Regions from separate parts of the Homo sapiens genome. Here region 2 is linked to region 1. Evidence: promoter capture Hi-C in human tissues and cell types (Jung and others, 2019). All regions are on one chromosome and are shown on one strand. The core of a region is centred on a gene start or on the middle of the fragment in contact, and the rest is flanking DNA. Distances in the headings are between cores, read along the strand shown. Region 1 holds the start of DLK1 (delta like non-canonical Notch ligand 1). Region 2 overlaps RTL1 (retrotransposon Gag like 1).

Region 1 (7,534 bases), core at 1,733-4,232:
TACCGCTTCTCCCCAAGGGACTACATTGGCATTTTCGCGCCTTCTGTGCAGACTTAAAGTCTGTGACAGTCACCAACCTCCCCTCCCTACCGCTCCTAAGCTACCCTTTCTCAGTGTCTGCTTGCTGAAAAGAAAGCTCCGGCCTCCTGAATTTACAAACGCTTTATTAAGATTAGAGCAAGCCAACAGAAATCTTCCTGGCTTGTAGGTCCTGTGAGACAAGAAAGTCCCCTCCCATCCCTCAAGTGTCCCTGCATGGGGCTCTTGAAGAGGGCCCGGGTCCAGTGGAGCCTGGGTGCCCGCCTTGGAGATCCTCTAGCTGGCGGGGGCAAGGGCTCTGGGGTGCAGCTGTTGGAGGAATGGCTGGAAGGGGTTGTGACCAGGCCCTGTCAGCACAGTGCTTTTCTGCTTACAAAAACCGGAGTTCCTTTCAGAGACAGGTGGGACATTCCTGTTTATGGGCTAAGAAACAGGGCTCACAGATGGAAGAGACTGGGCCCTTGGTGGGCACGAAATGGAGATAGGATTAGAGAGCAGGTGCCCCCCAAGCCAAGGCAGTGCCCTTTCAGCGTAAGCCTGTGACATTTTGACAGACTCCCTTGGGCGAGAATACCCTCCTCTGGCCTCCCTCCCTTTCCTAAACTGGGGAGGGCTGTGGTGGGGCTGGGGGCGGGGGTGGGAAGGGGGAAGAACCTGGATGGGGAAGGGAGGAGTCTAGGTATGTGTGTGGGTGGGGACACTGGGGCCCCCTAAGTGCTCCATGCAGTCCAGGGAGTCTCCTCTCTGCGGGACTTTGGCAAGAGCCTGGGAGGCCCTTGCCCCAGGGCTACCCAGCCCTGAGATCCTCCACCCCTCCTTGGCTTCTGGCTGAGAACTCAGCTCTTCCAGGTCTGCCTGCTGTTGGGATAATTTTGGAGGCTGAAGTCAGGGGCCTCGAAGGGAGGGAAGAGAGGAACCCTGGTCAGGAAGACCTTGGCGATCACCATGCAGTGGACATTGGCACCCAGGGTTGGGCCTGTCAGCCAGACACTCTCGTTCTAGGCCAAGGGCCTTGGGCAAAGGACCTTCCATCACTGAAGTTGGTTTCTTGACTTGAGGAAAGAGTCCACGGAAGAAAGTAGGGTCACAGGAATGCAAGGGCATGTGGCAGGCACACAGTGGGCACCCCAACTGCTCCCTACAGCCTGTCCCCAAAGCCGTTCCCAGCAGCCCCTACCTATCTGGGCATTCTGCAGATAACATCAGGGAAGGGATATCTTCCACCAGGGGCTGGGAGTTTCCCTCCAGCCTCCTTGGAGCCAGCCCAGAGCAGCTCTGGTCTCTGTCCATCCCTGTACCCATCCCGAGTGCCTTACTGGAGCACTGACTTAGGGGTGGTGGGCCTGGGGATGCCCATGGGCCTGCCTTCCCACATCTATGGCTAAGATGGGAAATCTGTGCTCAGACCTGCCAGGGCTGGACTAGAGGGCCAGGAGGTCAAAGCATCCAGCCTCCAGGTTCACAGTGGTGAGATCACACCCCCCTGCAGCACTGTGAAGAAGGGGAGGCCGCGAGCTGGGTGGGCACCCACTCCCTGCATCTAGGATATGTATGCAAATTAATATATGCAAATTAAGTATCCTAAACGACCCACCCAAAGATTGGGACGCCTGGGACCCTTCCCCCAGGAGGTGAAATATCTTTAATCCCCTCCTACCCCTCTCCCTCCCTATCTTTCTGAGCCTCCCCCATCCAGACTGGGTGCAGGGGTGCAGAGCTTTCCTCTCCAGCAGGGCTCTAAGCCTAAGCCGGGGGCAATGGGGAGGAGGGGTGTCTGAGGAGCACTCCCTCTCCCTGGGAGCTCTGCAGAGGAAGAGGGTCTCTGGCAATCAGCATCCTCTACCTCCACCTCTCCAGCGGGCGACCCCTCAGAGAAGGTCTCCCAGTGAGTCTGGAATACGTGCCGAGTGCCTGGAGTGCTATTGTGTGTATGTGAGAGCACATTGGTGAGGCTGCCCATGCATGCCACTGTGGACAAAGACAGATGCGATCGTGTGTGTGTGGGGACTGCGTATATGTTTTTGTCAGTGTGTGTGACCACGAGTCAGCTGGGTATGTGTGCTTGTGGGTATCAGGTGCATGGCTGTGCGTACATGTGTGCGTAAGAGTCGGTGCATTTGTGTTTCAGCGCGGCTAAGGCCCTGACTGAGATGCTGTGTGTGCGGGGGTGGGTGTGACTGAATGCGGGCACGGGTGTCCGTCTGTTTATACGTGTGTTTGCGTGTTTGGGTGTGCAGGTGGCTCTGCGTAAGCGTCTGTGTGCAGGGGGTCGGCACATGGGGGAGGATGCCCATGGTTGGGTAACCGCAGGTCCGCTTGACCCTCTGCCACCTAGGACTGTGTCTATACGGCGTCTGGGCTACAGTGTGTTTGAGTTGCCGTGTGCGTTTCCGTTGCGGGGTGTGGGTTGCCACGGGGCAACTGCATTTTTCTGCGTCTTCATGGCCAGGGGTACAGGGGGCGTCGGGCTTTTCCTGGGGGTTTTTCTGTGTGCGTGTGTAATTATGTGCTTAGTTCACATCTTCATAGTGCGCCTTTGTGTTTTCCTGGGTATCTAACCATTGCACGTGTGCCCGGGACTTCAGCGATAAGTGTTTCGGTGTTCCTGCGTGCGGATTTGTGCTCTCCGGGGAGGTCTGCGGCCCAGGTTCGATTCCTGCGACTTGTCCTAGGCAGGCCTGTATGTGCGCGGCGGCCGCGTGCTGTACAGTGTGAGGGAACGTGTACCAAACGCTCGCGGGATACCTGTGCCCGTCTAGCCAAGAGTGCACCCGTGTGCGCGAGCGGGCTTCTGGGACGCCGCCGTGGTCGGGGGCGGCCCTGCGAGGGGAGGGGGTCACAGGGACTGGCCGGCGCCGGCCCCGTGCGCACGGAGGCGGGGGCGGGGGGCGGGGGCCGCGAGGGGGGAGGCGGTACGAAAAGGGCGGCGCGCGCGGCGGCGGCGGCAGCTCCCCGGCAGCGGCGGTGGAGAGCGCAGCGCGCAGCCCGGTGCAGCCCTGGCTTTCCCCTCGCTGCGCGCCCGCGCCCCCTTTCGCGTCCGCAACCAGAAGCCCAGTGCGGCGCCAGGAGCCGGACCCGCGCCCGCACCGCTCCCGGGACCGCGACCCCGGCCGCCCAGAGATGACCGCGACCGAAGCCCTCCTGCGCGTCCTCTTGCTCCTGCTGGCTTTCGGCCACAGCACCTATGGTGAGTTCCCCGGCGGCCCGGCTCGCGCCCCCTCTGGGGAAGCCTGCGACTCCCCGCCGGCCGCCCGGTGCCCCGCACGCCCCGTCTCGTGAGCCCCAACTCCGCCCGTCCCGCCTAGCCCTAAGCCCCGCGCTGTGCCTGTCTCGCCCTACCCACCACGCTCGCATGCCAAGGCCCGTCCCAGGGGTCCCAGGGCGCAGGGGATGTGTGAGACCCCCAGCCCCTTCCCGCCCTGCAGAAGTGGCGCCAGAGGGGTGTCGGTGCGCTGAGCAAGGAGGTATGGAAAAATGGGGTGCTGTTGTGGAGTCTTCTATGAAAATACTCTGGGGTGCAACTTTGGGGTGTCCCTGTGTGAGCGTTCTGGAACAGGTCTCGGGGCGGGAGTGGGGGACGACTTTGCCGTCTTAGCCCCCAATTCCCAGAGAAGCCCAGCCTGAGCCCTTCCTGCGTGGCGCGTTTCTGTAGGTGAGGGGCTGCGACACTTCTGTCTGCAGCGGCCATCTGTCTCTGACAGCGAGAGAGTTGCCCCCTTCCTGCAGCGCCCCCCCACTCATTGCACCAGTGGTTGTAAGGGGGCTGTCTAGAAAGCTGGGGAGCTGGTTGAGTAAATGCACACAGTAGGTGCCTGTTAAAGTGTCAGAATCTCTAAGCAGTGTTGTTGCAACCTCAGCCCGCTAAGCAAAACCCTGTGTCGTCATCGTTTTTTTAATGCGAAGAGTCTGGGGTAGGGGAAAGAGGGAAGATTTGACCTGGGTGCCCGGCTTAATAGGGATGAACCTTAAAAAGAATGCAGACGCCTTACTGGGGCGCCCACCAGGTGAACCTGTCTGGGCTTTCCCGGAGTTGAACACCTCAAAATCTGCTCCTCTTTTCAGCTCAGGTTGCAAAAGTGACGGTCAGGCTGCATGCCCAGGGCTCAACATATTTCCCTCCACGGTCCCCGTCCCCGCTGTTAGGAGGACTTGAGGTGTCGTATTTGCTTTTGGGAGTCCGAGGAGAAGGTGTTTCTCCTGCTCCTAAGAACGAGGGAGAGTGTACTGTGGTCATTTCATTGCTGGGAACGTGGCAGAGATGTTTTTCCTGAGTGCACTGAGCCCCATCCATGCTCGGATAGGAAGTGCCTACTGTGTGCCAGGCTGGTAGGACCCAAGAGGGCTGTTGGTGCCCTCGAGGGCAGTGGTGGGCTGTGTGGGCGAAGACAGCCTTTGCCTTGGCCTGGGGCCTGGTGGGGTGAATTGTATAACCTTTCTTGTACCTCAGGGGCTGAATGCTTCCCGGCCTGCAACCCCCAAAATGGATTCTGCGAGGATGACAATGTTTGCAGGTAATAGAGTGGCTCCTCAGAGGCAGCTTGTAGGGGCCACGCAGAAGCCTGGGGAGTCGTGAAGTCAGGCAGAAAAAAATAGGGGGCTTGGCCACTACGCTGCAGCAAACAGCTTCCGGGCCCCTGCAGAAAACTGGTGGGGCGAGCTGGGGAGATGGGGGGGGCGGGGGGGGGGCAGCCACAGCTCCTGTCTGCGTTCTCAGAGGTGGGGGGGCAGGTGGGACCACTGCAGGCCACTGCGGCAAAACGCAGCACTCCCCCGGGATCTCGGGGCCCCTCCAAGTCGGCCCCCTCAGCTTGGCATGTTTTCTCTTTAAGTTTTCCCATTCAGGTGGCTGGTGTTTACTTCCCAGGACCACCGGCTGCCACTGTGCAAAGACCCCCAAGGGTCCTTGGTTCCACAGAAAGTAGCCTGAGCTGCCTCTCTACCCCTGCCCTCTTCATATGTCCCCACCTTTCTCCCCCACCCATTGCAGGTGCCAGCCTGGCTGGCAGGGTCCCCTTTGTGACCAGTGCGTGACCTCTCCCGGCTGCCTTCACGGACTCTGTGGAGAACCCGGGCAGTGCATTTGCACCGACGGCTGGGACGGGGAGCTCTGTGATAGAGGTTGGCACTCGCCTTTGTTCACCTCAGCTCTGCGTCCTTACCTGCCTGCCCTAGCCCCTACCACCTCCTCCCAGTCTCCTGTTGCTGGTGTTCCTCACTTCCTCATTCCTGCACACTCCGTGCCCTGTATTCTAAAGATCTGTTTATAAATTTCCTGTGGGTACCGAATGCCTCCTCAGAGGTAGGGACTTTATTTTGCTCTTCTCTGCGCCATCAGCACCCAGCACCTAGAGGGAACATGGCGTGGGGGCCAGGGAGCTGCCTGTTGAATAAAGAGTCACAAAATACACATACAGCTGGGCCGGTGGGACCACAGACCCCAGGCTGCCTGTCCAGGTCATGGAAGCCCAGTGATGGACAGGGCTCTGGGGATCTCAGAGCTAAGACTCCCTAGAAAAGCACACGCAAGACTGTAAAGAGGCTGCAAACAAACAAACGGGGTGGGGGGTGGCCAGCACTGCTCAGTGGTTGAGGGGCAGGTGCTGAGTCAGGGCCAGGAGGACAGGGCTGGGGGGCCTGGACTGAGTGGGTCAGGTGTAGGGGGAGGCTGCAGTTGGGAAAAGCTGAGAAAGGGTTAAAGTGAAGATGGGTGTTATCTGTTGATTTCATTAATTTATGCAATCTTTGCCTCCATTACCCCAAGCAATTGAGAGTTGGCTGTCACTGCATTTTCAGGCTGCGAAATGTTCGTCTAAGCCCATTTTCATTTGGCAAAACCAGCCCTAACGTTTGAGCAAACTGAAGTCCACAAAAAAACTCCCAGCTGTGTAGCAGCCTGCCCTCAGGGCCCCTGTCCCTCAGTCCCCAACATTAGTAAAGACGGTACAGATAGGGAAACTGAGGATCAGAGAAGCACAAGTGTCTGCTAAGGAATATGAAAGAAGTTGGGCAAAAAGCCAGCTACAACCCTTTCCCCCAGCCCCAGAAAGAGAGTTAATTTTTATCTTCGATTGCATCTAACATCCTTCCTTAAGGAACACCTAAGAGCATTTTGTTGTGGCCCCTGCCCTGTACAGCCAGGGCAGCCGTGGTTCTGAAGCTGAGCTCCCTCCCACCCCAAATTGTCTCTGGTCCTTAATTCCAGCCCCTGCAATATGGTGCAAGGTTTACCCGCAGCTGACTCATGCTCTGGCCAGCATCTCTGCTGCCCCTCACAGAAGCAGCGGCAGCAGCTCTGAGTCGTTTGAGGATCTGGGGGATTCCAGCAAAGCCACCATTTGGGATCAGGGTTAGGCTTTTAGCTTGGAGCCCATCTTTTTGGTATCTAAATGCCGTACACCCTTGCTGAAATTTTCCGGACAAATGCCTCCCTTCTCATGGGCCCTTGGTATGTCCCCTCCCCACCAAGTTGACAAAGGCAGCCAGCTTGGGGATGGCCAGAGAGTCTGGGGTCCCAGAGAAGACATAGCCCTCCCTCTCCCTTTTTGCCCATCTTTGAGGCTGTCGTGGCCACAGCTGCTGTCCCAGCAGAGACCCCCAAGCAGCCTTTTCCTCAGAGCAGCTTAATTCACCCCTGTCTTGGGGTTGGAGGCTCAGGAGGGCTGATCCAGGATTGGCATAGCAGGGAGAGCTGCAGGGACAAGCTGGGGGTGGTCGCCAGCTTTTTAGCTTAAATTTAAGATTCTGAGTGACAGGAGAGTCGGGTGCAGAGAATAAGGAGCCTGACGCGGAGGCGCCACGTGCTAATGCCTTGCCGGTGCCGTCCCGTAAAGATAAATCCTCTTTATGTGTCCTTGCACCAAGCCGGGCTTCCATGGAACACCACGGGGTAGTCCATCAACACAACGTTCAGGCTCTTCCTCCTTGATTGATTGCAGTCTCCCCTCCACGAGGGTGTGGGTCTCTCTGAGAGGGGGAAAAAATACGCACATGTGTGGCCTCAGCACGGGGGATTTCCCCTCCCCCCACCCCCTCCAGCCTGCCTTAGCTTGCTGTGTCTCTCACTGGCCCTGGCTTTCTGTTTGGCAGGTACAGCAGCTCAAATTATAGAAAATCAAAGCTGAAGAGTCCCTCAGAGATTGGCCAGGGAAAGACCCTCTTTTTATAAGTAGGGAAACTGAGGCCCAGAATGGGTAGGAGCTGAACTCTGCTGCCACATGGCAGCAGGCCGGATACAGGGCAGGACAGGGGTCCCTTCCTGGCCCCACTGGGGAGCTGGGGTCTCCATCATCAGAGAGCCCCTGACTCAGGCCCTTGTGTTCAGCTCATCCCTGGCTTGCTGAACCTGAATAATGAAGTGTGCGTGATGGAAGGTGTTAAAAGATGGTGGGAATATACCAGTGCTCATGGAAACCTGTGCTGATAGGAGAGCGCTCAATAGTTCTAATTTCCCTGGCTTTAAAAGATGAAGCCTTTTTACCAGGGACCCCTTGAGTTC
Region 2 (7,534 bases), core at 2,582-5,081, 170 kb after region 1:
TTGAGACCAGCCTGGCCAACATGGTGAAACCCCGTCTCTACAAAAATACACAAAATTAGCTGGGCGTGGTGGTGCATGCCTGTAGTTCCAGCTACTCAGGAGACTGAGGCATGAGAATTGCTCGAACCTGGAAGGCAGAAGTTGCAGTTAGCCGAGATTGCACCATTGCACTCCAGCCTGGGTGACAGCAAGACTCCGTCTCAAAAAAAAAAAAAAGAAAGAAAAATTGCAAAACTATAGCAATCACCTCAAGGTTTTCACAGGAATCAAACTCAGTCCAAACTAAAATGCTGTGTAATAAATAGTGGGGCTTCACGTGCAGGAAAGGCGATTAAGAGCGAGGCATGCAGGCCGAGGGCTGCTTAACCTGTCTCAGATTTCTTCCGCACAAAGTCATGGTTGAAAATAGGTCTCTGCCTGGCAGAGGGTAAAGAAGTTCTCGAAGGCCTCTGTCTGCATTAGCTTGGTGAGAGGGAAGACATTTAACCAATTAACCAATTAGTGATCTGTGCGGATGGAGACTGAGCAGGACGAGGGTGCCACCCGACTGGGTGTAAAGTGGGCTTAGTTTTGTCTTCTTGGTGTCTGGGAGCCTCAGTGCCTTTCTACGTAGATGGGAGTATGCTTGTCACATCCTTGTCACACAAGTAACCCTGTGCCTGTTTGAGGATTCCAAGAGCCTGTGACGGCTGCAGGGGGCCCTGAAGCTTAGTGTGCAAGCAGGAGCTGGGGACAGAGGGGCTTCTGACGGGAGTCGGGGTGCCTCCTCTGGATGTGGGGGTGGGCTAGGGTGGGCAAAGGTTGCTTCCCGTTCTCCTGCAGCTGACAGTTAGAAATGCCAGTGCCGTTTAGCCACAGTCCCTCTGGGTTAGAGTCGGGAAGAAACATGGCAGTTGTGTGTTTTGCACAGGAATCAAGCTGTCAGGGGGCACAGTGAGGCCCCAGCTCCTTACCAGCAAGCCGTCTAGGCTGCGAACGCGAGCCGCCGGGCCGCAGCTCTCTAGAGGTCCCTGTCCCCACCGCCTGGCCCCATCTCATGTCACATTCCCCCAAGGTCTCATTCCACTCGGCTAATCTCCAAGAACACCGGCCAGGGCATTGGCTTTCGGGTCCTTTTAAAGACCAAAAAGTAAAGCACTCCCCCGTGGGTGCTGGACAGCTTGGGAGGGATTTGGGGCTGTGGGTGGTGAAATCACAGCCCTGGGCACACACCTGCCAGCCCGATGTCACTGACAGGCTGCTCGGAGGCTTGGGGCTCCAGTGAGAGCATATAGATATTTTTTAAAAAACATATTCGCGATAAAATAAATCCCCTGTGTCTGCAGAACTTGCTCTGGGCATGTACCCACTCCCAATCCATCAGGAAACATGCCCTTTGCTTTGTATTTGTAAAAACAGAAACAAAAACAAAAACAACCCACAGGCGAACAAGCAAATTAAATCCCCCCCACACAAAATGTTTATTCTAATTATGCAAGAAATGGATTGATAATTAATACACGCATTAGTAAAAATCAAACACTGCAGATAAAGCCATCTTTAATGCTTCCCTCGATCCCTCCCCATCACCCCCCAGCAAATTAACTGCTCTTCTCAGTTTCAGGCGTCTGGTTCCAGATATTTTTTTCTGTGCATTTGCATATGTAGATAAATATACCTCTAAAATCTATGACTTTGTTTATTTTTTACATAAACTATATCATAGTGTACATTTCCTCTCGCAGCAGCTTGTGTTTCTTCCTTCAAGAGTCTGCTTAGAGATAATAAAGATCAACACTATTCCTTATAACAACACCTCAGTATCCTGCGAGCTGTACACACCAGAGTTTATTTAACCACCTTGCTGCTGGCATGAAAGCCTCAGGTCCTTTACCCTGGTTGGCGGGGGGGGGGGTGGGGGGGTGGGGGGCGGGGGGGGGCAGTGAATTGGTGGCGGCAGGTGTAAGTAATTGCTGAGATTTGGGTTTGGGGAGTGGGCTCACGAGTGTTTATGACATTATTATAAATGAATATATGAGTGCATAAATTAGCAAAATAAAAGGGGGCTTTTCTGGACCAATGATGAGACAGTGTTTATGAACAAAAGATCATGATTAATCCAGTTCTGCACAAAACACTGAGGTCCATTAGAAGACAATAGGTCTTGGCTGTTTCATTCCTTTTAAGAGCTGTTTAATATTCCACGGTATGTATGCACCATTGTTGATTACACTCTTCTACTGTTGAAAATCCCAGCTGAAAGTGCTCTGGGGGAGGAGAAGCTTTGGTCACAGTCCTAGCCGTCAGGGTGGGTCACAGATTCATAGGTGTTCATTAAATTATTTTTTAAAAAAGAATACATAAAAATGGTGCTTAATGCAGATCAGTGAGGAAGCGTGTCACAAATCGAGGTTTTAATTAATACGATTCTGCTCAACTAATGCCCGATAAAAAAGATCTAAGCTGTTTCCATTTTTTGTTGCTGTTACCAACGACACTGCAGTGAGCATTCTTGCAGCTAAATCTGTAAACACATCCTCGACTGTTCCTTTACCCCAGCTTCTTAGAGATGGGGTGGTGGGTTAAATTGTTTGCAAAAGTTTATTTTCATTGAGTGATCTTTCTAAAATGGCATTTTGACCTTGTTACTGTCTTGCTTTAAAGCCTCCATCTGACTTCCTGGAGCTTCCGGGACGGGGTCCAAAAAATAAGGCCTTATCCTGGCATGGAAGACCCTTTAGGGTCTGTCTTGGAACTTGCCAGCCTCAGCCCCTCCCCACTGGTGTTTACCTGCTAGGCGCACCTCACCCCCACGGGGCTACCTGTTTCTCTCAGCGGGCTCCCTACTTCTTAGGCTTTGCGCGGCCGTGCCTTTTCAGCCAGTTTCTCCCCGGCCTTAAAGAGCAGGCTTGAAATATCCCTGTTGGGGAGCCCAAAGTTAGATGGGCCCCACGAAACACTGTGTTCAGAAGCCCACCGAAGCCCTGACCCTGGAAGTGGGATGCCTCATTGACATTTTTTTCCCAATTAAAGGGAATGTTTTGCATTTTTCTAGAATTGATGAAACTGGTCAACTGTTACTCACCCTCCTTCCTTTGTCCCTTTCTAGGAGCCCTGGGCTCCCCCAGTGTTGCCTGGGTCTGACTTTGCCTCAGTGAAAACTGCCTCGAATTCTTTCTTGCACCGATGGGCAGATGGGCAGTGTCGGAGGATCGTGTCATCTGTCCCGTGGCGCTGGGTAAGTCTGCAGTGTTGTAAAGCTGCAAACACCCTTCTGGGTGGGGCTCAGGCTGGCACCCCCCCACTGCCCCAGCCTGCGCTATACCACGTTCCCCTGATGCTTGCCTTGTGCCGGGCCCCAGAACCCAGAGTCATGGGGTCCACAGCGCGGGAGTAGCGTCTCAGTGTTGTGAGTTCTGGGGATGAGGTTCGGGGTATGATTACAGCTTGGAAATGGCTGATTGCCATTATGGCTCCTCCTTGCCAGAGGTAAACGGGTCTGGTCCCAGAACAGGAGGAGGACATGTGATGACTGGAGTAACGATGAGGGGCTCTGGGGAAGGACAGGGCTGAGAGCAAGTGCTGGGACCTTTGGGACCGAGTCATATTCTAAAAAGAGCACAGGCTTTGGGGGAGAGGAGCTGTGAGGCCAAGGCAGCATCCCCCTGGGGAGCTTGTCAGGAGTAACAGGAGCCACTGGCAGTGTTTGGGCTTTTGGTCCCTTTTTTTCTCTCCCAGGGGAAGGGAGAAGGAGGCATTGCAGGAAGCCAGCCACCCTGAGCACAGACCCAGCTACAGAACAGACTTGAGCTGCGTGTCCTTGGCAAATCCCCAAGTGTTTCTGTGCCTTGGTTTCCTGATATTAAAAAAAAAAAAAAGGACTCATAATCTCTCTCACACAGGGCTATTGAGATCTCAATGAGGAAATAACGCAAATAAATCATCCAGCACAGTAGCCAACACGCAGTACCCAGCAAAACTCGGTAGCTCTCCCCATCTTACCCCGTCATGAAATGCTTAACCCCCTCCCTGAGACGGGCAGCTGCTCCCTTTCAGGGCAGGGAGACCCAACAGAGGACAACACAAATGCCAGAGAGAGTGTGAGGGGCAATAAAAGCTGATGCTCGCCTCCCTCCCAGACATCTTCCCAGGGAAAAGTGTGCTTTCTTGAACACCTGGGGGCCGGGGAAGGGGCTGCCCTACCACTTTGAATCGGGTTTCCCGAAAAGTTTGGTGAGAGTTTATTTTTATGTAAATAACATATAAAAAGTCAGACTTCTCCACAGGCAGATTTTTTGAGGCTCATATTTTACAGACTTTGGCAAGGGTCACTCGGAAGGAACAGTGGTTACAGTCTCCAGAGGTTCATAATTCCTGGAAAAACTTCTGGCCAAACCTGACTTCTCCTAAATTTCACAGAAAATTCTCCCTGGGCTGGGCTCAGGCTAAATGAGCTTTTTGTGTGTTAGTACAGCCTTACCTAGTGGAAGCATGACTTGCACGTTGCCCTTTACACAAAAGGGAACCTCCTCGGCCGCTGTGAACAAAGGCTCCGCTCTCCGAAATGTTTGATTTGTTTACTCGGGAGCGTGAGCCTGGTCAGGCACATGTCTGATACTGGGGCTATTTCTCTGCGGCCATATGTAGAGCTGTCCAGGTCTCTGCAATTTAACCCTGCGCTTCATGCCAGAATCCCATTTCCTAACTTCCTCAAGCAACGGGGCAAGGGAACCACAGCAAAAAGGAGTGTAGGGGGAGTGTTCCCTCCGTGTCCGGCAGGGGCTAAAGGGCTTGCTGCCCTGTGGCGTCTGCCTCTAAATAGGGATTTGGGTCGGTGACTTTTCACATCTACACCAAAGCCCTTCAGAACCCTTTCTGCACCACCAGCTATCCTGAACCAGAAATCCCTGTTCACAGAATTTCCCATGTGGGTGCCTCTTGTTCTGCACCCTGCATCGCGCCCCCTCCCCCGTTTATGTAAATGACACATGTAAATGTCACTCTCCCAAACATTTTCACACCTGCAGCTTCAAATCAACCTTTTAATAGGTTAAAACAACAGCACCAACAAAAACCAACAAAAACAGAGGCTCCCGAGAAACAAACAGTTTTTCCCGAAGGGCTTGCAGTGCCTAACTGAGCTGCCAGGGCCGTCTGTCTGTCTGTTAGCCAGGAAGGCAAACCAGCCTGCGCACTCCACCTGCAACACGATGCTGCCCCCCCACGGCGGGTCGGAGCAGCTGTGGCGACCCCAGGGCTGACAGATTGGGTTGTCAGGAGCAGGACAATGAGGCTGCAGTGAGGATGGGCTCCATCCTTGAATGACTCTGCCCTCCTTGAAATTTTTCTGCTCCATGGAGGTGCATCTCTGCCCCCGAGGACCTTGGGCATTTCACAGACAAGGAGCCCTGGCTGGCCTCGCAGCCATCCCCCATATGCACACACGCACACGCACAGACATGCGCGCACACACACATGCTGAGTGCCTGCACTGGGAGCATAAGGCAGAAAACTCCTTTGGAAACTGCAGAACAGAGCCTTGTCTAGCAGAGGTCCCCTGATAAAGGTCCCACAGTTCCTGGGAACTGAACCCCTGTGAATGGGCCAGGAGAGGCAGCTCCCGACTCCCGTGTGGGCTGCATTCATCAGCAGGCCGGCACCCCAGCCCTGTCACTGTGTGAGGAGCTTTCATGAGTCCACTGAACATGTAAGTCACAGTCTGGCAGCTGGCTGCATCTGTGGTTGCTGCTCAGCCTCCAGAAAAGGGCCCCTCAACCTGCCAGACCTCCTCGCTCCTTCCACTCACTCTGCCAGCCTGTTGCCCCAGAGAGGACACAGGCCAGCCTCTGTGGGCTCAGGAGCCAGGGCAGGTGCTTGGCCACTCTAGGTGTTCTGGCCCTCAAGAGGGGAGTTGGCAGCAGGACAGTCCCCACCTCCCCCCACCAGCCCTGGGCACTCAACCCCATTCTCTGCTCCTCTCCCTCATTGCCTTATTGGGACAGAGGCACCCCGCCAACCATCTCTGTGCCTTTGCCATTTAGCCCAGGGCAAGCTACTCGGGAGAGGCCAAATGGCCTCATACTGACCCCTGCCTGGTCCCCTCTGGCCACCTCGCTCACTTGCCCGCTTGCCTGCTCAGGAGTTGGTGCTGTGGGAGCTTCTCAAAGGCCTAAACATGTGGGCTGCCAGCCTGGGCAGGAAACCGTGCTGCAGCCTTCTCAGCCAAGCACTGGCCTGCCTCTCTCCCCTCGGATGCCTCCTGTAACAGGGAGCTCCCTCTCTCCCCAGGCAGCCTGCTCAGGGCTCGCACGCAGAGCTGCTTTGCTGAGCCCTCCCCTGCCTTTTGCATCTGCCTCCTCGGCTGTGCAGCAGCCCCCTTGCCCCCTCTGCCCTCCGATCTCTGCAGGCTGTGGGCTCCCTCTCTTTTCAGTCCTCTCCTTTCTGTGCTGAATGGCAATACCCCCACCAATGGTGGGAACAGGATTGGGCGCCTCTACACCTGTCCTAACACCTCTGTCTCTGTTCTTTTAGACCTGGGACAGAGCCCTTTGCCCTGCTGTTCTGCTAAAAGCCCAGGGGAGGGCGTGGTGCTCCCCTCCTGGGGCCAGCTGCTCCATGTCTATCTGTTGAGCGGCTTCTCAGCCCTCTTGGGTTTTCTATGGCCCCTTTTCCAGTTGCTAGGGAGAACGCTCTGTATGCAGCCCCCTGCCTTTTCTGCAGGAGCTGCTGGCCTCCCGGCCAGCCCTGGTCAGCCCTGCAGTAGCAGCAGCAGCAGCAGCAGCAGCAGTAGGCAGCCACAGCAGGGCTGGGGGCTCCCGAGCCAGGCAGACCGGCTTGACTCCCTGCTCTCTAGCTGCAAGACAATTCCCTTTACTTTTCAGACTCGGCTTTTCCCCTGTGAAATGGAGATGAGAGTTTCTCCGTCACTGGCGTGAAGTGAGGACTAAATGAGATAAGTGTAGGCTTGCACACATCAGACACTTCATAAATGCTTGTGGAGTAGACGGTGGGACCCAGGGAGGGAGAGAGAGGTATGTAACAAGTGTCGCAAGAGAGAAAACAGCCTGGCCTTTCAAGACCCTGCTCCCAATACAAACGGGAACCTCTCCTGGCAGAGTCCCCTCTGCTGGCTTAATCGCACAAATCAAGTCAGCCGGAGGCAGCCCCCGGCCTGTGGAACTCACAGTAGATGCAGCAGGCAGCATAAATGACATGCAGAGCCCACATCTGCATTTAATAGACCGAGAATTTGCATTGTATATAACAGCACGAGGGGTAAAGCATGAAGGCATAAAGGAACAGTTTTTCCCGGCGGCTTCCTTGAAGGGCCAGCTTAGACAGGGGTCTGGGGAGGAGAAACTCAGCGGGGTCCGGGCATCCCATAGACTATGGGACAGACATCCATCCATGCACTCATTCTCCAAGCCACCACAGTGTACCTACCTTCCCCGGGCCCAGTCCCAAGCGTGAGGCTGGGGATGAAGTGATGCCGGTGGCTTAGTGATGCCGGTGGCTTCCTGTCCTCGAAGCTCAGTCGGTCTGGTGGGGGAAACAA

What was found. Contacts are between HindIII fragments. The study calls those that stand out against the background at their distance.
Region 2: a contact is called between a fragment that was not itself captured here and the fragment with the promoter of DLK1 in region 1, in 1 of the 25 tissues and cell types used here (H1 embryonic stem cells).

The regions. Positions count from the first base shown.
Region 1 is chr14:100,723,910-100,731,443 of GRCh38, forward strand. DLK1 (delta like non-canonical Notch ligand 1) reads left to right here and starts at 2,983. Exons shown (of 5, transcript NM_003836.7): 1 at 2,983-3,226; 2 at 4,487-4,550; 3 at 5,027-5,157. The coding sequence starts at 3,160. The HindIII fragment of the contact is 15,317 bases long and covers 1-7,534 here.
Region 2 is chr14:100,895,869-100,903,402 of GRCh38, forward strand. It overlaps RTL1 (retrotransposon Gag like 1), which reads right to left. Exons shown (of 4, transcript NM_001134888.3): 2 at 7,423-7,518. MEG8 (maternally expressed 8, small nucleolar RNA host gene) reads left to right here. Exons shown (of 51, transcript NR_146000.1): 4 at 1,725-1,864; 5 at 3,089-3,217. SNORD112 (small nucleolar RNA, C/D box 112) reads left to right here and starts at 2,052; the gene lies at 2,052-2,128. The HindIII fragment of the contact is 4,695 bases long and covers 1,485-6,179 here.